4 separate regions of the Homo sapiens genome follow, and all the other regions are linked to region 1. Evidence: promoter capture Hi-C in human tissues and cell types (Jung and others, 2019). All regions are on one chromosome and are shown on one strand. The core of a region is centred on a gene start or on the middle of the fragment in contact, and the rest is flanking DNA. Distances in the headings are between cores, read along the strand shown. Region 1 overlaps TSEN54 (tRNA splicing endonuclease subunit 54). Region 2 holds the start of NT5C (5', 3'-nucleotidase, cytosolic). Region 3 holds the start of SUMO2 (small ubiquitin like modifier 2). Region 4 holds the start of NUP85 (nucleoporin 85).

Evidence for each region. The method cuts DNA at HindIII sites, captures the fragments that hold promoters and counts their contacts. A contact is called where the count stands out against the background at its distance.
Region 2: the fragment with the promoter of NT5C here is called in contact with a fragment that was not itself captured in region 1 in 3 of the 25 tissues and cell types used here (H1 embryonic stem cells, lymphoblastoid cells and spleen).
Region 3: the fragment with the promoter of SUMO2 here is called in contact with a fragment that was not itself captured in region 1 in 4 of the 25 tissues and cell types used here (dorsolateral prefrontal cortex, lymphoblastoid cells, ovary and 1 more).
Region 4: the fragment with the promoter of NUP85 here is called in contact with a fragment that was not itself captured in region 1 in 2 of the 25 tissues and cell types used here (dorsolateral prefrontal cortex and lymphoblastoid cells).

The regions. Positions count from the first base shown.
Region 1 is chr17:75,517,989-75,521,935 of GRCh38, reverse strand. TSEN54 (tRNA splicing endonuclease subunit 54) reads right to left here. Exons shown (of 11, transcript NM_207346.3): 6 at 2,889-2,941; 7 at 426-527; 8 at 1-231. Among named protein-coding and RNA genes, the nearest start is that of TSEN54, 3.4 kb to the right of the region's middle. The HindIII fragment of the contact is 6,204 bases long and covers 1-3,947 here.
Region 2 is chr17:75,129,283-75,135,022 of GRCh38, reverse strand. NT5C (5', 3'-nucleotidase, cytosolic) reads left to right here and starts at 3,281. Exons shown (of 5, transcript NM_014595.3): 1 at 3,281-3,489; 2 at 3,742-3,842; 3 at 3,918-3,978; 4 at 4,156-4,270; 5 at 4,381-4,795. The coding sequence starts at 3,316. The coding sequence ends at 4,535. It overlaps ARMC7 (armadillo repeat containing 7), which reads right to left. Exons shown (of 3, transcript NM_024585.4): 3 at 4,751-5,740. RefSeq lists silencers at 3,119-3,688, 4,058-4,262 and an enhancer at 4,299-4,388. The HindIII fragment of the contact is 10,965 bases long and covers 1-5,740 here.
Region 3 is chr17:75,179,887-75,185,626 of GRCh38, reverse strand. SUMO2 (small ubiquitin like modifier 2) reads left to right here and starts at 2,668. Exons shown (of 4, transcript NM_006937.4): 1 at 2,668-2,813; 2 at 4,439-4,570. The coding sequence starts at 2,793. RefSeq lists silencers at 2,369-2,598, 2,729-3,128 and an enhancer at 2,710-3,360. The HindIII fragment of the contact is 6,398 bases long and covers 1-5,696 here.
Region 4 is chr17:75,202,133-75,207,872 of GRCh38, reverse strand. It overlaps NUP85 (nucleoporin 85), which reads right to left and starts at 2,194. Exons shown (of 19, transcript NM_024844.5): 1 at 2,079-2,194. The coding sequence starts at 2,111. RefSeq lists enhancers at 1-95, 2,183-2,362, 1,521-2,454, 2,455-3,389. The HindIII fragment of the contact is 15,269 bases long and covers 1-5,740 here.

The sequences.
Region 1 (3,947 bases), core at 1,309-3,808:
TCGGCTCTGCCACTCTCCCAGCTGCACCCCACCCCCTCCCTGGCCGGGCCAGGGCTGGGGCCCAGGGACCCCAGAAGCTGAAAGGGGCCCCCTGGGCCCTTCATGGGGCTTGACTCCTGGGGTTTCTCCTCTGGGCATTGGCTGGGCTGGCTGCAGGGAGGTGGGCTGGAGGCTGCCAGACTCTTGGGTTGCAGGGAGTTGTCCAGGGCCTTGGCCTTCTTATTAATGGACCTGAGGGACGTGGGGGAAAAGCAGCACATCTGCCCCTGGTTGCTAAGGTGCACACGTCCCATGGGAGCTGAAGGCAGGTCCCCTAGTGTCTCCCTGAGCCTGCATGGGAGCTGCTGGTTCTTAGAAAGCCTGTGCATTTTCCAAGGTCCCAGACACCAGCACTCCCTGGGGGGCCACCGTGATGTGGGAGTTACCGAGGGCTGGAGCTGCTCCTCTTTCTCTTGCCATCTCCATCCTCCAAGTGCTGCACGCTGGCATCCAGGTTAAGCTGCCTCTCATACGGGGACAGGACAGAGCTGTGGGGTGAGAACAGCGGGTGGGCCACTGACCCACCTCCTCAGCCTGGGGATCTGGTGGGATGTGTAAGGAAACGGGCCAAGAGGACAGTCAGTGGGCCAGGATCGGAGCCACACCCAAGTGCTAAGGCCCTAAGCAGACCCCCATGAGGGGTACAGGCCCAGCCAGGGGGCCCAGCCATGTGCCTCTGCCTAGGCAATGGCCCAGAGGAGCTAGCAAACTTGGTAAATATAGAAAAATAAAAACCTTGGATAACTATTGTTAACATCTTTCTTTCGTTTATGTACACACTAATCTCTCTCCATATATTTTTTTCTAACAAAAATGTCATTGTACTAGCATACTGCTTTGTGATCTTTTTTTTCACTCAATAATATATTGTGGACACAGCCCCGTCACTGCAGCATTCTTCCCTGCTGTGAATTTTTTCCTTTTTCTTTTTTTTTTTTTTTTGAGACACAGTCTCGTTCTCTCACCGGGCTGGAGTGCAGTGGCACAATCTTGGCTCACTGCAACCTCCATCTCCTGGGTTCAAGCGATTCTCCTGCCTCAGCATCCCGAGTAGTACCGGGACTACAGGCGCGTGCCACCATGCCCAGCTAATTTTTGTATTCTTAGTAGAGACAAGGTTTCACCATGCTGGCCGGGATGGTCTCCATCTCCTGACCTCATGATCCACCTGCCTCGGCCTCCTAAAGTGCTGGGATTACAGGTGTGAGCCACTGTGCCTGGCCTCCTGGCTGTGAATTAAGGCTTTAAGGCAATGCTGTTCAAAAAAGAGCCACTAGCGACAGGTGGCTATTTAAGTTTGCTTTTTTTTTTGAGATAGAGTTTCGCTTTTTCGCCCAGGCTGGAGTGCACTGGCAAGATCTCGGCTCACTGCAACCTCAGCTGCCCAGGTTCAAGCAATTCTCGTGCCTCAGCCTCCTGAATAGCTGGGACTATAGGCGCCTGCCACCACACCTGGCTGATTTTTTTTTTTTTTTTTTTTTGGTATTTTAGTAGAGACAGGGTTTCACCACGCTGTCCAGGCTGGTCTCGTACTCCTGAGCTCACGCGATCCGCCCGCGTCGGCCTCCCAAAATGCTGGGATTATAGGCGTGAGCCACCACACCAGCCTATTTAAGTTAGATTTAAATACATTTAAATTAAATGAAATTAAACATTCAGTCCCACAGTTGCTCTAGCCCCATGTATTAGACATCACAGACACAGAACATTTTCATCATTACAGAAAGTTCTATTGGACAGAGCTGCTCTAAGGGATAACCTCTCATTTGTGTGAGCCTGCCTCTTGTTCAACTCTTGTTTGCAAGTACACTGATTTTGCACAGTGAGTGTGTTCTGTGTGACTCCTCACTAAATGCAAGCTCTGTGAGGGCAGTGATTTTGCTCTTCTGTTCTCAGCGATGTGTACAGGGCCTGACCCCCAGCAAATAATAAATATCGTTGATCATTCTCACAGGTGAACCACTGTACACGTCCACGATTATTTCCTTAGGATAGGTTCCACTTTCAGAAAAGAAAAGATGTAGAGCTGGGCGTGGTGACTCATGCCTGTAATCCCAGCACTTTGGGAGGCTGAGGCGGGAGGATCATTTGAGGTCAGGAGTTCGAGACCAGCCTGGGCAACACAGTGAAACCCCATCTGTACTAAAAATAAAATAAAATAAAAAAATTAGCCAGGCATGGTGGCACACGCCTGTAATCCCAGCTACTTGGGAGGCTGAGGCAGGAGAACTGCTTGAACCCAGGAGGCAGAGGCTACAGTAAGCTGAGATCATGCCACTGCACTACAGCCTGGGCGACAGAGTGAGACTCCGTCTCAAAAAGAAAAGAAAAGATGTGCCTGCTTTAGAGCTTTTGTGACATACTGTAACTGCAAAAGCTGTACCCGTTTCCACTCCAAGTCTGAAGGTCTCTGCCTTTTACCAATGCTGGATTACTAAGGTGATGAAGGAAAAAACATTTAACCTGGCATGAAAAATGTGAAACCCTACTAATGGTAAATTCTTCACCCAGTCCTTCATTTAAGCATACACTCTACATACCTGCCTGCGCACCTACTAAGTGCCAGGCACTGTTCCAATCCTGCCTCTCAGTGCTCACACACACTCAGCTGCAGGCGCAGGTCATCTGAAGATGCGGCTCGAGTTCATAAACCAGAATAAAACAAAATGACCTGGATTCCTCCCAACCTGCCTCTCTCAGAACGCTTCCAGCAGGCGCCCCCAGTCTGTGCCCAAGGAACTGCACTCCAGCCAAGGGTTCCAGGTAAGGAGAGGCCATTTTCTACCTTAGACTAGTCAGCCAGGTCCCAGGACTAGAATATATGGAAGGGGAACAGGAAGGGGATTTACCTTGGTTGGAATCGTCGAACCACATAACCCAACCTCTTCAGGTGGCTGAAGACCTCAAAAGAAAAAAAAAAAATGAAAGCTCAGATGGCCACTCTGGAAAACACCAAATGGTTTCTCCAGACACAGGCCATCCCCACAGCCCTCTCTGCCCCTCCTGTACACCCCCAGATTCTAAACCCTGTGATTAAGGTTGGACCATGCTTCATTACGAACACCATCCCTAAAGATCTCAGGCTCTGAATTCCTGTCCTCCCACTTACCTTACTCGGCACAAATGACATTTAGCCAAATCCAAAAAAACTGATAGCCATGAAACCAGAAAACCACCACGCCCTGAAATACTTGAGTATTTTGATACAAAGCTCATAGGAGTGAAGCTGCCGATCACCATGTGAACAAAATGATGGCAGGTGGTGGGCATCTCTCCAGCCCCACACCTCCACAGATGCCGGTGGGAAGTTTCTGGTAGGGAGCCACATATTCAACCTTGTGTCCCTGCATTCATATCAGAGGAACATAGATAAGAATGTCCCCCATCCTGCTTGATCTCAGCAGGCTTTAGCACAGCTAACCACTTCCTCCTTGAAAGACCTTCTTTTGGCTTCTGTGATGCGACTTTGGTTTTTCTCCTGCATCACCAGACACTCCTCGGTCTGTTTCTGCTTCTTATCTGCCCCCTAACCTACACAGAGAGCCCCAGGGCTCAGACCCAGCCCTCTACTCTGATGGCACTCCCATACAGCCCAGTAGTTTAAATACCATCCATGTGCTCATGGCACCCATATTTACATCTAGCCTTGACCTCTCCTCACACTCCAGACTTGGATTCCAATTGTCTGTCTGCTTTACACTCACTTGGATGTCCAAGAAGCTCCTCAAAATTAACTTATCTGACACAGTTCTTTCGACTGGTCTTGTCCTCCCAAATCTGCTCCTCTTCATTCTTCCCACTCAGAAAATGACAGCACCTTCATCCACTGGTGCATGCCCAAATCATGGGCGGTAATCCTGGGTTCTTCTCTCTCCTTAATCCTGACATCCAATCCATTGGCAGTCCTA
Region 2 (5,740 bases), core at 2,032-4,531, 390 kb after region 1:
AAATCTTAAAACAGATGAAGACCCAGAGAGGAGTGGGTTTCTTTCTGAAGAAGGCTCTAAAGATGAGCAGGTTAGACTCTTCTACCTCCCCTTTGTTCTGGGCAGTAACATTTTAAAGTGTTCTCCAAGACTGGGCAACATGGTGAAACCTCGTCTCTACCAAAAATAGCCAGGTGTGATGGCACACGCCTGTAGTCGGGAGGCTGAGGCAGGAGGATTGCTTCACCCTGTGAGATCAAGGCTGCAGTGAGCCATGATCGCACCACTGTACTCCAGCCTGGGTGACAGCAAGACCCTGTCTCAAAAAAAGTTCTCCAACTTTAAATATGCGGGGATTTCTCCCCACCAGCAAGCAAGCAAGCAAGCAATTCTGCAGTGGATACCAGCTAGGTGTCCTCCAATTTTTTTTTTTTTTTAAGACAGTGTCTCAGTCTGTCGCCCAGGCTGAAGTGCAGTGGCACAATCTGCTCACTGCAACCTCTGCCTTCTGGGTTCCAGCGATTCTCCTGCCTCACCCTCCCGAGTAGCTGGGACTACAGGCATGTGCCACCACACCCAGCTAATTTTTGTATTTTTAGTAGAGACAGGGTTTATGCCATGTTGCCCAGGCTGGTGTCGAACTCCTGACCTCAAGTAATCTGCCCACCTCGACTTCCCAAAGTGCTGGGATTATAGGCATGAGCCACCTCACCTGGCCCTCCAATTCAATTCTGACAATCAGTTACCTGGAGATAGCTTTGATTCCACAAGTTGAGGGCTCAGCCCCCAAGACTGCTTCCCCTTGAGATAACTCGCAAGTCTGGGCCTCCAAAATGTCTGCGTATCTATGAGTCATATGCATGTTGACTTGAGCCCCTCTTAGACTGGTTTGTCAGGCTTTTTTTTTTTCTGAGATGGAGTCTGGCTCTGTCACCCAGGCTGGACTGCAGTGGCATGATCTTGGCTCACTGCAACGTCTGTCTCCCGGGTTCAAGCAATTCTCCTGCCTTGGCCTCCTGAGTAGCTGGGATTTGTAGGCATGTCCCACCATGCCCGGCTAGTTTTTGTATTTTTAGTAGAGATGGGGTTTCACCATGTTGGTCAGGCTGGTCTCGAACTCCTGACTTTGTGATCCACCTGCCTCGGCCTCCCAAAATGCTGGGATTACAGGCGTGAGCCACTGCACCCGGCCCTGTCAGGTTTTTTTGTGTGTGTGATGCTTCTATTACATGTTTTGTTTGTTTGTTTGTTTGAGACGGAGTCTCGCTGTGGCCCAGGCTGGAGTGCAGTGGCGTGGTCTTGGCTCACTGTAATCTCTGCCTCCCGGGTTCATGCCATTCTCCTACCTCAGCCTCCTGAGTAGCTGGGACTACAGTCACCCGCCACCATGCCCAGCTAATTTTTTTTTTTTTTTTGTATTTTTAGTAGAGACAGGGTTTCACCGTGTTAGCCAGGATGGTCCTGATCTCCTGACCTCATGATCCGCCCGCCTCAGCCTCCCAAAGTGCTGGGATTACAGGCGTGAGCTACCGTGCCCAGCCTCTGTTACATATATTTGGAAGCAGTGGGTTCATCAGATGGGGAACAATGGCGAGATGGGCCACTTAAATCTGTGTTTATAATTTTGGCTCTCCCCTCCCCCAACAGGGACTCCCTCTGTCACCCAGGCTGGAGTGCAGTGGCAGGATGAAGGCTGTGTAGCCTCAATTTCCTGGGCTCAAGGGTTCCTCCCACCTAAGGCTCATGAGTAGCTAGGACCACAGGCATGCGCCACCATACCCAGCTTATTGATTTGTTTATTGTAGAGACAGGGTCTCCCTGTGTTGCTCAGGCTGGTCTTGAACTCCTGGGCTCAAGCTGTCTCCCACCTGGGCCTCCCAAAGTGCTGGGATTACCAGCCTGAGCCACGGCGCCTGGCTTTATAGTTTGTAGGCAAATAGATTTGAGTGGAGTCAGGAAGTTTCATGACATCCACAAAAAGAAGAGTCAACAAAATGTATCACAGTTCAGCATGTTCTTTTTTTTTTTTTTTTTTTTTGAGAAGGAGTTTTGTTCTTGCTGCCCAGGCTGGAGGGCAATGGCATGATCTCGGCTCACCGCAACCTCTGCCTCCTGGATTCAAGAGATTCTCCTGCCTCAGCCTCCCGGGTAGCTGGGATTACAAGCATGTGCCACCACGCTAATTTTGTATTTTTAGTAGCGACAGGATTTCTCCATGTTGGTCAGGCTGGTCTTGAACTCCCGACCTCAGATGATCCGCCCGCCACGGCCTCCCAAAGTGCTGGGATTATAGGCGTGAGCCACCGCACCTGGCCCTGTTCAGCATTTTCTAGACGGGAGTAGGTAAGCGATGTCAGTTCCACATAAAGTCCTGAGGACAGTCCTGATTACCTGTGCTTGATCAAAATCATCTTTCCGGGGGAAACCACACTTGAAGCTCCCATGTTTCAAGCCAACTCTAGTGTGAATTAGTCTCTTAACGAGCTAGACTTACACAAACCAGTTAACAGATTCATTTCACTTTGTAGTCCTCGAGGGATTGTTCCTGCTCCACTGCACAGACGAAAGCAATCCACTGAGACCACGGTACTGCGGTAATAAGACTTTGGCCAGGTGCGGTGGCTCAAGCCTATAATCCCAACACTTTGGGAGGCCAAGGCAGGCAGATCACTTGAGGTCAGGAGTTTGAAACCAGCCTGACCAACATGGCGAAACCCCGTCTCTACTAAAACTACAAAAATTAGCCAGGCGTGGTGGCGGGTGCCTGTAATCCCAGCTACTCGGGAGGCTGAAGCAAGAGAATCGGTTGAACCCGGGAAGCGGAGGCTGCAGTGAGCCGAGATCGCGCCGCCACTGCGCCGCAGCCTGGGCGACAGAGCCAGACTCCGTCTCAAAATAAAAAAAAAAAAAAAGAAAAAAAGAAAAAAAATGTGGAGCTAGCCCCACGGGTTTAGGACCCTTGACTCCTCGTTAGATGCTTCCCAGTATTTCAGAGCATCCCTTTGTTGGGCCCCCGGAAGGTCGGTCCCCTACTAGTAACGTGGGGTGAACGGGGGTACGTCTGCCGTAAAGTGGGAGGCGGCTGATGGGGACAAAGGCTGGGTCCCGAAGAAGCGCAGGGTCAGAAAAGTGCCCCCCAAAGCCGTCCCTGCACCCGAACCCTAGGATGGCCTCGCGCAACCGCAGGGCCGTCGGCACTGGTTTACGACCTGGGCGGGGCGGCCCGGACACTCTATGCAAATCAGCCCGGCGGACTCCGGAAGCAGCGCTCCCTCCGCTTCCGGCCGAGCCCGCGCCCCCCAGACCCCGAGAGCTCGCAGCTCCGGCCCGGCGGCGATGGCGCGGAGCGTGCGCGTGCTGGTGGACATGGACGGCGTCCTGGCCGACTTCGAGGCCGGCCTCCTGCGGGGCTTCCGCCGCCGCTTCCCTGAGGAGCCGCACGTGCCGCTGGAGCAACGCCGCGGCTTCCTGGCCCGCGAGCAGTACCGCGCCCTGCGGCCCGACCTGGCGGTAGGGGGCGCAGGGTCCCCACCCGGGCAGGGCCCGCTCGCTCCGTTCCGGGGGTCTCCCCCTTCTCTGTGAAGGGCGCAGAGCTCTCACCCTGGAACCCGCGGGCAGCGCACCCTGGGGAGGAGCCTTTGGGCGCGTGCCCCTGACCGACGCCCCCTCCGCCCCTCTGAGCTCGGGCCCGGAGCCCCCAGGAGCCTCCCTGCGGGTCCTCGCGGGAACGGGAAGCCGGGACCCAGAACTCTTGTCTTTCAGGATAAAGTGGCCAGTGTGTACGAAGCCCCGGGCTTTTTCCTGGACCTGGAGCCCATCCCGGGAGCCTTGGACGCTGTGCGGGAGATGAACGACCTACCGGAGTAAGGAGAGAGGGGGGCGGGCGGAGTCCTGGGCGGGCTCCTGGCTCCCGGCGGTAACCGCGTCCTTCTCCGCAGCACGCAGGTCTTCATCTGCACCAGCCCCCTGCTGAAGTACCACCACTGTGTGGGTGAGAAGGTGTGGCTGCCCCGCCCCTACTCCGCACGTGGAGCTGCCTAAATCCTGATTTTAAAAAGAAACCACCAGAAACCCAGAAGGTGGGGGTGGGGGGCTCTCAAGGGCTTAGAGCCAAGTCCCTATCCCTGAATTCCGGCTTCCATCAGGCCCTACTCACAGACTGTGTTTTCTACACAGTACCGCTGGGTGGAGCAGCACCTGGGGCCCCAGTTCGTAGAACGAATTATCCTGACAAGGGACAAGACGGTGGTCTTGGGGGACCTGCTCATTGATGACAAGGACACAGTTCGAGGTTGGACCCGTTATCCTTGGCAGCCTCCAGGCCTCTGGCCTGCCCGGATTAGGGAGAGGGAGTAATAATACCCATGACAGATGGCAGCGCGCTGTCTTTCACTGTCCTAGGCCAGGAGGAGACCCCAAGCTGGGAGCACATCTTGTTCACCTGCTGCCACAATCGGCACCTGGTCCTGCCCCCGACAAGGAGACGGCTGCTCTCCTGGAGTGACAACTGGAGGGAGATCTTAGATAGCAAGCGCGGAGCTGCGCAGCGGGAATGAGCGGGGATGCCGCGGGCAGCAGCTGGAGCTAAAGGAAGGGCAGGCCCACAGGGGCCACCGCAGAGCCGAGTCGGGGCGGCATCGTGCTGGTGCCTCTGGCCCCGTGGAGTGGAGCAGGCAGATACCGTTAAGCGCTGTGCTACCGGGCCCCAGGCCCAGCCACCCGGTACCTCCCGAGAGGCTGTCCCTGGACCCTGGCTGGCATGGAAATACAGTGGGAAAACCAGTCGGGACCTTTAATAAAAGACCTTGGCTTTCTAGTCTTCTAGGACCCTTTATTTGGGAACATAAAGGGACAGGCTCCCTGAGCGGGTGCTGATGAGCCCTTCCCTCCCCTCTGAGTCCAGTGGTCCCCTAATCTGCCCCATTTCCATGCCCACGTGGGTACCATTTTTGTAGCACCTGCCATTCCTGGGCCATCTAAGGGGTCAGCCTTGAGGGGGTACACGAGAGGCAAGGACCCCCATTTTCCCTGAGCTCCACCTTTCCATCGGATCCCACGCTCCTTATGTTGACCAGGGGGCACCATGGACATGGAGCCACATCCTTTACGTTGCCGTCTCTTCCTGACTCCCTTGAGCAACACTCACTGCGTCCCTGATGCCCTCGTGGGATACACTTCTGGGGTAGGGCTCCCCATCATTGAGTGACAGCAGAGGAGGGCCGAAGCTTTCAGCCGGGGCCATGGGGTGGCAAGGGGAGAAGATGCAGTTACCAGGGCTGGTGCCTCTATTCCGACGTATCATCACCTGCATGGCCTTGTGCTTGATGCCCGATGGCCACATTAAGTCCCTGGGCTGTCACTCAAGGGCAGGGACCACATCTTCATCTTGGAGTCATGGTGCCTAACAGCAAGGCTGGGTGGACAGTCAATGCTGGGCCACAGGTTATCCAGGTTGGCATCCACCAGGCCCAAATGCCCAGCTTGGAGAGCCCCTGGGGGAGGCATCCATCCTCCAGAGCCCTGGAGGGGGCACCACATCTTCCCAGGGTGAGATCCTTTCACCACGAGGCATCTCATTCCTATACCTGAAAACTACTCCAGACACTTCTGTTAAGGGATAATCCCTGATTTCCTGCAGCGAAGGCAGCTCTCCTAAGCCTCAGGCCCAGCTCCTGAGAACACTGTCCTGCAAAGCCTCTGGGTCCAGGCACTTGGCCGCTTCTTACACCAGGGCCTGAGTCTGGTGGTGGTGGCACCTGAT
Region 3 (5,740 bases), core at 1,419-3,918, 340 kb after region 1:
CCACCATGCCTGGCTAATTTTTGTATTTTTAGTAGAGACACTGGGTTTCACCATGTTAGCCAGGCTAGTCTCAAACTCCTGACCTCAGGCAATCCATCTGCCTTGGCCTCCCAAAGTGCTGGGATTACAGGCGTGAGCCACCAGAGGGTTTCACCATGTTAGCCAGGCTGGTCTCAAACTCCTGACCTCAGGCAATCCATCCGCCTCGGCCTCCCAAAGTGCTGGGATTACAGGCGTGAGCCACCAGAGGGTTTCACCATGTTGGCTAGTCTGGTCTCAAACTCCTGACCTCAGGTGATTTGCCCGCCTCGGCCTCCCAAAGTGTTGGGATTACAGGCATGAGCCACCGTGCCCGGCTGATATTGCAGTATCTCTTGAGAGTGTTTTTTTTTTTTTTTTTTTTTAATGGAGTTTCGCTCTTGTTGCCCAGGCTGGAGTGCAATGGTGAGATCTCAGCTCACCACAACCTCCTCCTCCCGGGTTCAAGCGATTCTTCCGCCTCAGCCTCCCGAGTAGCTGGGATTACAGGCATGCGCCACCACACCCAGCTAATTTTGTATTTTCAGTAGAGACAGGGTTTCTCCATGTTGGTCAGGCTGATCTCGAACTCCTGACCTCAGGTGATCCTCCCACCTCGGCCTCCCAAAGTGCTGGGATTACAGGCATGAGCCACCATGCCCGGCCTCTTTTGAGAGTGTTGATCTGAACTAGATGGTCTTCCTGCTTTGGCCTATCACACATCTAAGGTCTTAAGCCTCTTCCTCCCCAAAGAGAACCTACAGAAGGCCAGCAAATGCAGCTCCATCCAGAGGCCAAAGAAATTAGATTTGGTAAGAAGGTGGAATAGACAAGATTTGGCCAAGATTGATTGGATGAGGAGTGTGTGAAGGAGAAGAAGTCAGGAATGTTGCTGGCCTTTCCAGCTTGGGGCAGCTGTTGTAGTGGTGTGTCACTCAGTTTAAGAGTGACAGGTCAGGAAGAAGGACCCATGTGGAAGGTAAAGTGAGGAGTTTTAGTTGAGAGTTGCTGGGTCTGAGGTGCCTCTGGGATATCCAAGTGGAGATGTTCAGAAATCAACTGGAAACTCAGAAGAAAGACGTGGACTAGAAATAATGGATTTGAGGATCATTAGCAAAGAGATGGTAATGAAAATCGGTGAAATCATCCTCGGAGAGGGAATGGAGTGATAAAAGGATCTTGAAGAAAACCCTAAGGAACAGTTAAGGGAAGGAGTGAGTAAGAAAAAAAATTGCAGAGAGAACAAAGGACAGGCTAGAGATGAGAGGAAAACCTACCTCCTGCAAAGTTCAAGAGGAGTGACAAACTGAGAAGCATACTGGATTCAGCAAAGAAGTCTGCGGTGACCTTGTGGAGAGCAGTTTTAGTGGAACTTTGGGGACAGCACCAGATTGCAGTGGGTTGAGGAGTGAGTGGGAGGGGAGGGGTTGGAGACAGCTGGCGGGGACATTTTTTCGAGCTGTTTGGCCAAGAATGGAGAGAGATAGGATGGTAACTTCATAGAATTGGGAGCTTTTTTTTTTTTTTCTATACTAACGGAGGAGAGGAAGAAAATTCAGGGACAAAAGGAAATAATAAAGCCCCGGGGGAAGAAGCGAGATGGAATCCAGTGCACACACATCGGATTGTTCTTCAGACAGGAGGGACGCATGTGTATGTTTTAACTGGATGCAACGAGGAAAGGATTAAATTGGCTGGAAGCTTGATTGTTGGGTAGTTCTCGCTTATGGATACTGTTTCCTCTTGGAAGACAGGCGATGAGTAAGGATCTCGTTGAATGAATACATGAATATTTTCCCGTAGCTAGTCAAAGTCTAGGGTTACCAGCAGGACAGAAGAAGACACTGTAGGCCGGGCGCGGTGGCTCACGCCTGTAATCCCAGCACTTTGGGAGGCCGAGGCGGGCGGATCACGAGGTCAGGAGATCGAGACCATCCTGGCTAACACGGTGAAACCCCGTCTCTACGAAAAATTAGCCGGGCGTTGTGGCGGGTACCTGTAGTCTCAGCTACTCGGGAGGCTGAGGCAGGAGAATCACTTGAACCCGGGAGGCAGAGGTTGCTGTGAGCCGAGATCGTGCCACTGCACTCCAGCCTGGGCGACTGAGCGAGACTCCGTCTCAAAAAAAAGAAGAAGAAGAAGAAGAAGAAGACACTGCATTTTAGGCAAGAGTCCGGTGGGAAGCAGGTTGAGATTGACTGAGAGGAAGTAACCATGGGAGGGCTGCTGGTCCACTGAATGAGAGAGATTTTTCCAGAACCTCATGCTGGGGCTTTGATTTAGGAATCCCCTTCCTCCTCTAGTAAGTCTGCCTTCCCTGGCCTATGGCTTACGTCTAAAGCCTCGAGCCTCATCGTTCCCACCGAGGACCAGCTGGAAGCCATTTTGATTATGCTCCACCACGAAGGAGGACAATACAGCCCCGCCCAGAGCCAGGCGCGCCCCCGCGGCGGGCCGGGTGCGCGTGTCCGCGCCTCTTCCCGCCGGCCGGGCGGGCGCCTGGCCCAGGACGCGGTGGCGTGGGACGGGGGGTGGGGGTGGTTATGTAAGCGTTGCGCGCTCCCGCGAGGCGCCAGCCAATGGGAGGCTTCGGCTACTCGTGCTCGCGCACGCAGGGTGGGGGGAGGGAGCGCACGACGTGCGCGCACCCTCTCCCCTCGTCCACCGCTGCCGCCTCCTTCTTCTGCCGCTCCTGGTGCTGCTTGTGTGCTCGTTTGGTGCGGACCTGGTACCTCTTTTGTGAAGCGGCAGCTGAGGAGACTCCGGCGCTCGCCATGGCCGACGAAAAGCCCAAGGTGAGCTCGCCGCCGGCCCCTTCGCCTCGCCGCGCGGTGGGGGTCATGGCGCGGGCCGGGGTCCGGCCAGAGCCCGCCGCTGGCTCCCAGCGCTTTCCCGGGCCCCCCACGGGGCCGGCCGCGGCTCAGGCCCGGGCGCTCCGCGCCATTTTCCTCCCTCCCTCTCTTCCTCCCTCCCGCGCCGAAGGAGGCCCCGCCGCTCTCTCCCGCCCCCGGCGGCCTCCGAGTGCGCGCCGGGCGCGAGTTGGGCGGGCAGAAAGCGGACGCCCGCGGACCCACCAGCCCCGAACGGGGATTCTTGGCCCAGCCGGCCGGCGCGCGTGAGGAGGGGCGTTAGGGCGCGCGGGGTCTCCACCTTCTGTCGACCCCGCGTCGGGTGTTGCAGTCTCCGAGGCGGCGAGGAGTCCTCTGGGCTCGGGCTTCACCTCTCGGGTAGGAACCGCGGGCATCTGGGGACCCCTGCCTGGGGCCGCGGCGGCGGGGCGAGGGTTCGGGGCGAATCAATGGGCTGCGGACGGGCAGGAACCTGGATGCCCGCGGGCCGCCGTCCTGGGCCTGGGGGTAGGGGGATTCCCGTGGAGTATTTCCCACTTTAATAGCCTCAGGGGCCCGAAGGGGGAGGGGCAGCGGCTTTTCCCTGGGTGCCAACGAACCCCTAATCCGCGAACACCATGTGGTTTCATGAAGTTGGAGGCACAGGTACGAGCAGAGAGACTTTGTGCGGCTTAACTTTTGAACGCGGCTTTTGAGGCACCCGGAGACTTCCCGGGAGGACTTGGGGACACCCATCATCGGGGCACACGGGACTTGCTGCTTTTAGTTTGGTGGCACCCCCCGCCTCCCGCGCCTTTACTTTCTGGAGCGTTTTAGGGCTACAGAATTGCTTCTGCACTCGATTTTGGACAACTTTAGGTTGGGTCGAAATCTACAAGAAACAAATCAGGATAAAACTGTGTATTTGACCCATGACAACAAAGGGGGGGAGGGGAGAATAAGTGCTCTTAACCGAAAATAAAAATGAAGCTGCTAATAGAGGAGAACGTTAACTGTGGTCCTGACTGAGTATTACCGCTGTTCCGGGGGGAATCGGGATATTCTTCGATTGTTTTTTTTGTTTGTGTGTTTCCTTTAATGGAGATTGGATTTAGGTTATTAAACTGAGTTTGGTAACTTTTTAATGACAACGGTAATGAGTTTTGAATGGCAGGCTGTAGATTTATTGTTTTGTTTCTTGCAGTTGTACTTAAAGTGCTTAGAAAAGAGAAGGGACTCTATTTTTAACTTTTTTGGGGGGTAAAGTATTTTGGGAGTGATATATGTCATTTTAGGAAGTTTAACTTCAAGAGAACGTTGCAATACACTGAATAGGACCCAACTTTAAACATATTGTTGCTACTGATAGTATTGCATGTAGGCTTTTCCGTATCTGACAGCTATCTAATACTGTTACTGCAGGATTTTTCCGCTTTCACATTGATTTCAGCAGCTGAAAACAGCAGTATGCCGTTTTAGCATACAGTATGAGAAACCTGTTGATTTTTGAAGCAACTAGGGCTGCTGCTGCTTTATAAAACGTGTTCGTTGATCACATTTCCCAAATTATACTTTTATTTTTCTTTTAACAGGAAGGAGTCAAGACTGAGAACAACGATCATATTAATTTGAAGGTGGCGGGGCAGGATGGTTCTGTGGTGCAGTTTAAGATTAAGAGGCATACACCACTTAGTAAACTAATGAAAGCCTATTGTGAACGACAGGTGAGGAATTCATATGTGTACTTCCACTGAATAAAACTATTTTTAAAAATCTTATTTTCATGGGAACAAAAACTAGACTAGCACATTACAGTGACTTTTTGATGGGATGAATATGCACTTGGCACGTCAGTTTTGTCGTGCACTTGGTATATTGATAGCTCGTGAAAACCCTTAGGATGATTTGGTTAGTATTATATGTGGTTCCAGTCCTGTGCCAGAAATCCATCAAATTATATTTACAATAATTTTTTTTTACCAAGGAAATGTAATTTTATGTTTATAAGAAAATAAGAGTGAACTTGGTAAAATTACTTATAAGTCTTTTATTATTTTATTTTATTTTTTTGAGATGGAGTTTCATTCTTGTTGCCCAAGCTGAAGTACAGTGGCCTGAGCTCAGCTCACTGCAACCTCCACTTCAAGCGATTTTCCTGCCTCAGTCTCCTGAGTATCTGGGATTACAGGTGCCCACTACCAGGCCTGGCCAATTTTTTTTTTGTATTTTTAGTAGAGATGGGGTTTCACCGTATTGGCTAGGCTGGTTCCAAACTCCTGACCTCAGGTGATCCGCCCGCCTCGGCCTTCCAAAGTGCTGGGATTACAAGCATGAGCCACCGCGCCAAACCAAGAAGTCGTTTTTTTTTTTTTTTTTTTTTTTTTTTTTAAGCTGGGAGTCTCACTCTATTTCTTTTAAGCTAGAACTTATCTACCTTGTAAATTGTGTTTTATTTTTGTTTTTGTTTTTGATGGAGTCTTGCTCTGTTGCCCAGGCTGGAGTGCAGTGGTGCAATCTTGGCTCACTGCAACCTCTGCCTCCTGAGTTGAGGCTATTCTTATGCCTCAGCCTCCTGAGTACCTGGGATTTCAGGCGTGCGCCACCACGCCCGGCTAATTTTGTATTTTTAGTAGACCTGACCTCAACTCCTGACCTCAAGTGATCCGCCCACCTTGGCCTCTCAGAGTGCTGGGATTACAAGCATGGGCCACTGTGCCTGGCCCCTTCAGATTGTTCTAAATAGGCTCAAAATAGAATAAGGCTTAAACCTATGTAAGTTGGGAAATTGAGTTTGAGTTTATACTTGAAAGATCAGTGAAGATAAAAACTTCCTTTAGGCCTGATGCAGTGGCTCATATCTGTAATCCCAGCACTTTGGGAGACTGAGGCAGGTG
Region 4 (5,740 bases), core at 945-3,444, 310 kb after region 1:
GATTACAGGCACGCGCCACCAAACCAGGCTAATTTTTGTATTTTTTTAGTAGAGATGGGGTTTCACCATGTTGGCCAGGTTGATCTCGAACTCCTAGCCAAGCGCGGTGGCTCATGCCTGTAATCCCAGCACTTTGGGAGGCCGAGGCAGGCTGATCACGAGGTCAGGCTTTGGAGACCAGCCTGACCAAGATGGTGAAACCCCATCTCTACCAAAAATACAAAAATTAGCTGGGTGTGGTGGCACGCACCTGTAATCTCAGCTACTCAGGAGACTGAGGCAGAAGAATCGCTTGAACCCAGGAGCCAGAGGTTGCAGTGAGCTGAGATCACGCCACTGCACTCCACTCTGGGTGACAGAGTGAGAATCCGTCTCAAAAAAAGAATGAGGCCAGGCGCAGTGGCTCACACTTGTAATCCCAGCACTTTGGGAGACTGAGGCCGGCAGATCACCTGAGGTCAGGAGTTCCAGACCAGCCTGACCAACATGGAGAAACCTCGTCTCTACTAAAAAAATACAAAATTAGCCGGGCATGGTGGCACATGCCTGCAATCCCAGCTACTCAGGAGGCTGAGGCAGGAGAATTGCTTGAACCTGGGAGGCGGAGGTTGCAGAGAGCCGAGACCGCACCACTGCACTCTAGCCTGGGCGACAAGAGGGAAACTCCGCCTCAAGAGAAAAAAAAAAGAAGGCCACATATCTCCCCAGAGAGCTTCCCTCACAAATTGCTCACAAGGAAATTCCTTGTGAGCCTCTAAAATTTTCAGGATACACATCGCCCCTATAAACTAGTCCTAAAATCAAGATCTGTTGATTCTGACAATGTCAACTACCAGCTTATCTTCACAAGTAAAAGACCAGAAATCGGCCGGGTGCGGTGGCTCACGCCTGTAATCCCAGCACTTTGGGAGGCCGAGGTGGGCGGATCACGAGGTCAGGAGATTGAGACCATCCTGGCCAACACGGTGAAACCCCGTCTCTACTAAAAATACAAAAAAGTACAAAAAATTAGCCGGGCGTGGTGGCGGGCACCTGTAGTCCCAGCTACTCAGGAGGCTGAGGCAGGAGAATGGTGTGAACCCGGGAGGCGGAGGTTACAGTGAGCCGAGACCGCGCCACTGCACTCCAGCCTGGGAGACAGAGCGAGACTCCGTCTAAAAAATAACAGTAATAATAACCATAATCCCTCTACCTACCCTGAGATGAATGCATACATAAAATTTTCCTCTGCTCCCTCTTTTCACAGGTAAAATGCAGATTTACTGAGGCTAATCACCGACTCACAAGAATGTAATCATTTGCCTCCTCACTGCCTAACCTCCCTTTTTTGCCCCTCCTGCTAGCTCCTTCCTCTTTAACTAGTGATGTTCCCAAAACCATCTTTGGAAAAAGCACAGGTCTCAGATCCTCCTGTGACCTGTGCTTTTTCCCGGTTGGATCCTCAACCTTAGCTAATTAAACCTTTATCGGTTGAGACCTGCCTCAGTCACTTCTGGTTAACAAGAGGGAAAACAAGAGCAATCCAACTAGCAGAAACGGTAGGTATCTCGTACATAAAGCGCGTGAATTTTTTTTATACACATCACAGATCATCCACAGTTGACATACTGTCTTCAAAGTTCAAATGGAATTGAATGCACAGCGATAAAACAGGAATAGTCTCCTGAGATAATACGTTGAATAAACCTTAGGCCACACAGGCAGAAGCTCAATGTGCCGCGATGCAGAGCTTAATACGGCTGGAATAAAAATATAAATTCCTCTGCTTGGGCTGAACCCACTCTAATGCCCAAGAGGAAAAGCAAGGGAAGTAAAAAGGCCAGGAACACAAAGGAAGGAAAGGGACGGAGTGGGACCTTCGAGGCCGGGGTTTGTGACTGGTGGCAGAAACCCCGCGACCACTGCGACCCTAGGGCGGGCACCTCGTTAACACTGCGACCTCCGGAAAAGTGGCAACTGAGTCGAGGGAAGGGGACGAGCGCCTCGCGACCACTAGGGAAGCAGACAAGCCTGAAGTAACTAAGCAGACGCAGTTCTCAACCCGCAAGGACGAGCAAGCCTGTTCGGGGTACCCTTACAGTGACTGTTGGCTCGCCATCGAGCTCCTCCATAGCGCCGAACCCCAGGCTCCTAGAAGTCGCTCGGACGCCAATGCTTCCCGCTCAGGCCTCCCGCTCAGAGCTGGCTGCGAGACAAGACTCCGCCTGGGCGTCTCCTGCAGCGCCTGCAAGCCCAAACCCTCAGTGCTGCGGCGCTGTCTCCTCTCAGCCACGGCCACCCCTCTGCGGTCCTCTGCACGCGTCCTTCCTTCCTGGCGTCGACAGCAAATCAGGGAAAACAGCGCCGAGGACTGACTGCACTCAGAGTACCGCGCTAACAGGATCAGGCGGCGCCGGGGACACCCTGGTGCCGAGCGGAGAAAAGGCCCCCGGAGACGGCGGGAGGGGCAGGAGGACCCCGGGGCTGGAGACGGTGCGAATGCGCGTGCGTAGGCTGGGGCGGCGGCACTTGGGTGGGAACTCGTGCGGGATTTAGGTCCCAGTAAGCGTACAACGTCTCCCAACTCTGGGAGTCCTCGCTACATCCCGGTCTCCACCTTAGTGTCGTCGCAGCCACTTGTCCAAACCCCGACAGTCAAACGGGCTTGTGCTGGAAAGCAATCGCCTCCACTTCCACACTAGAACACACACAAGAGGCACGGGAACAAAATCGATACCCCTGAAGGCCCGGCGCTGTGGCTCAAGCCTCTAATCCCAACACTTTGGCAGCCCAAGGTGGGTGGATCACTGGAGTTCAGGAGTTCAAGACCAGTCTGGCCAATATGATGAAACCTCGTCTCTACTAAAAATATAAAAAATTAGACGGGCGTGGTGGCGGACACCTGTAATTCCAGCTACTCGGAAGGCTGAGGCAAGAGAATTGTTCCAACCCGGGAGGTGGAGGTTGCATTGAGCCAAGATCGCACCACTGCACTCCAGCCTGGGAGACAGAGCGAGACTCCGTCTCAAAAAAAAAAAAAAAAATTAGCTGTGCTTGGTAGCGCGCGCCTGTAATCCCAGCACTCCGGGACGCCGAGGTGGTTGGATCACCTGAGGTCAGGAGTTCAAGACCAGCCTGGACAACATGGCGAAACCCCGTCTCTACTGAAAATACAAAAATTAGCCGGGAGTGGTGGCGGACACCTGTAATCCCAGCTACTCGTAAGGCTGAGGCAGGAGAATTGTTCCAACCCGGGAGGCGGAGGTTGCAGTGAGCCAAGATCGCGCCACTGCACTCCATCCTGGGCGACAGACGGAGACTCCGTCTCAAAAAAAAAAAAATTATTTTGCTGAGTCTCAAAAAAAAATTATTTTGCTCTTTTTCTCTTAATAAGTTTCCGTTATACCTCAAGTTGGAGTTATCGCCTGTGTAATTGAAAACTTTTCCAGAGTTAAATACAGTTTGAGAGTTAACCACTCTAGAGAGAGGAAGGGGAAAAGAGAGGGGAAGGAGCCACACTCTTTTAGAGAGAGGGGAGGAGAGGAAAGAGAAAAATAAGTTGTAAGATAATTGTTTCATTTTTCCAACCGTTTTCCATTAGGATTAACTGAAAAAGAAGGATACATAAACTACTTCATCAAAACCTTATTCTTAGAAATCTATAGAAAGGTTGAGGAAGGAAAAGGTCCATATATAGTATGCGTAATCAGTATATAGAACAAGGATAGGCCGGGCGCGGTGGCTCACGCCTGTAATCTCAGCGCTTTGGGAGGCCGAGGCGGGTGGATCACCAGGTCAGGAGAGAGAGACCATCCTGGCTAACACGGTGAAACCCCATCTCTACTAAAAATACAAAAAAAAAAAAAAAAAAAAAAAAAAATCAGCCGGGCGTGGTGGCGGGTGCCTGTAGTCCCAGCTCCTCGGGAGGCTGAGACAGGAGAATGGCGTGAACCGGGGAGGCGGAGCTTGCAGTGAACCGAGATTGCACCGCTGCACTCCAGCCTGGGCGACAGAGCGAGACTCCGTCTCAAAAAAAAAAAAGAACAAGGATAGCACTATTAGCTGTAGTTTTCCTTTTTCGCCCTTGTATTACTAAGCCTATTTGAATGATTGGGTAAAATGGTTGGTATATAGCAGTATTAGACCAAAGAATATTGCCAATACTTTTTCCTCAATGTTATCTAGCTCTTGGTCAGGCAATTTAACTACTTTTATTATCTTAAATGGCATTTTGTCAGCCTTAAAATAAAAATAATCAAGGAAATATAGCACTAAGATCTAACAAGCTCTCTCTCTCTTTTTTTTTTCTTTGTCTTTTTTTTTTTTTTTTTTTTTTTGTCTTTTTGAGACAGAGTCTTGCTCTGTCGCCAGGCTGGAGTGGAGTGGCACGATCTCGGCTTACTGCAACCTCCGTCTCCCGGGTTCAAGCGATTCTGCTGCCTAAGCCTCCCGAGCAGCTGGGACTACAGGCACACGCCACTACGCCGGGCTAATTTTTTATTTTTTAGTAGAGACGGGGTTTCGCCATATTGGTCAGGCTGGACTCGAACGCCTGACCTCAGGTGATCCACCCGCCTCAGACTCCCAAAGTGCTAGGGTTACAGGCATGAGCCACCGCACCCAGCCTGGTAAAGTCTTAAGTGGATACATTTCATGCAGCCTAATAAAACTAATGCTCCTGAACCGGGCACAGTGTACATTATTTAACAAAATCTCTGGCCTCAGCCTGGGCAACAGGGCAAGAGCAAGATGCTGTCTCAAAAAATAAAAAATAAAAAAAGGCCGGGCGCGGTGGCTCACGCCTATAATCCCAACACTTCGGGAGGCCGAGGCGGGCGGATTACCTGAGCTCAGGAGTTCAAGACCAGCCTGGGCAACAAGATGAAACCCCGTCTCCACTAAAATACAAAAAATTATTTGGTCATGGCGGTTGTGCGCCTGTAGTCCCAGCTACTGAGGCTGAGGCAGGAGAATCGTTTGAACCCTGGAGGCGGAGGTTGCAGTGAGCCAAGATCATACCACTGCACTCCAGCCCGGACGACAGTGTAAGACTCCCTCTCAAAAAAAAAAAAAAAAAAAAAAAAAAAAAAAAAAAAAAAAACTCTAGCTGGAACTAGTGGCACATACCTGTAGCCCTAGCTACAGCAAGAGGAAGGAGACTGAGGCCAGAGGATTTCTTGAGCCCAGGAGTTCAAGTCAAGGCTGCAGTGAACTACGATTGTTATAGCACTATACTCCAGCAAGACCCTGTTTCAAAAGCAACAATATGGCCAGGCGCAGTGGCTCACGCCTGTTATCCCAGCACTTTGGGAGGCCGAGGTGGGCGGATCACGAGGTCAGCAGTTCGAGACCAGCCTGGCCAATATGGTGAAACCCCGTCTCTACTAAAACTACAAAAATTAGGCATGGTGGCAGGCACCCGTAATCCCAGCTACTCCGGAGGCTGAGGCAGGAGAATCACTTGAACCCGGGAGGCGGAGGTTGCAGTGAGCCAAAACCATGCCATTGCATTCCAGCCTGGGTGACAGAGGGAGACTCCGTCTCAGAAAGAAAAAAAAAAAACAAAAACAAAAAAACAGGCTGGGTGCGGTGGCTCACACCTGTAATCCCAGTAGTTTGGGAGGCTGAGGTGGGCAGATCACCTGAGGTCAGGAGTTCGAAACCAGCCTGGACCAACATGGTGAAACACAGTCTCTACTAAAAATACAAAAATCAGCTGGGCTTCATGGCATCCGCCTGTAATCCCAGCTACTAGGGAGAC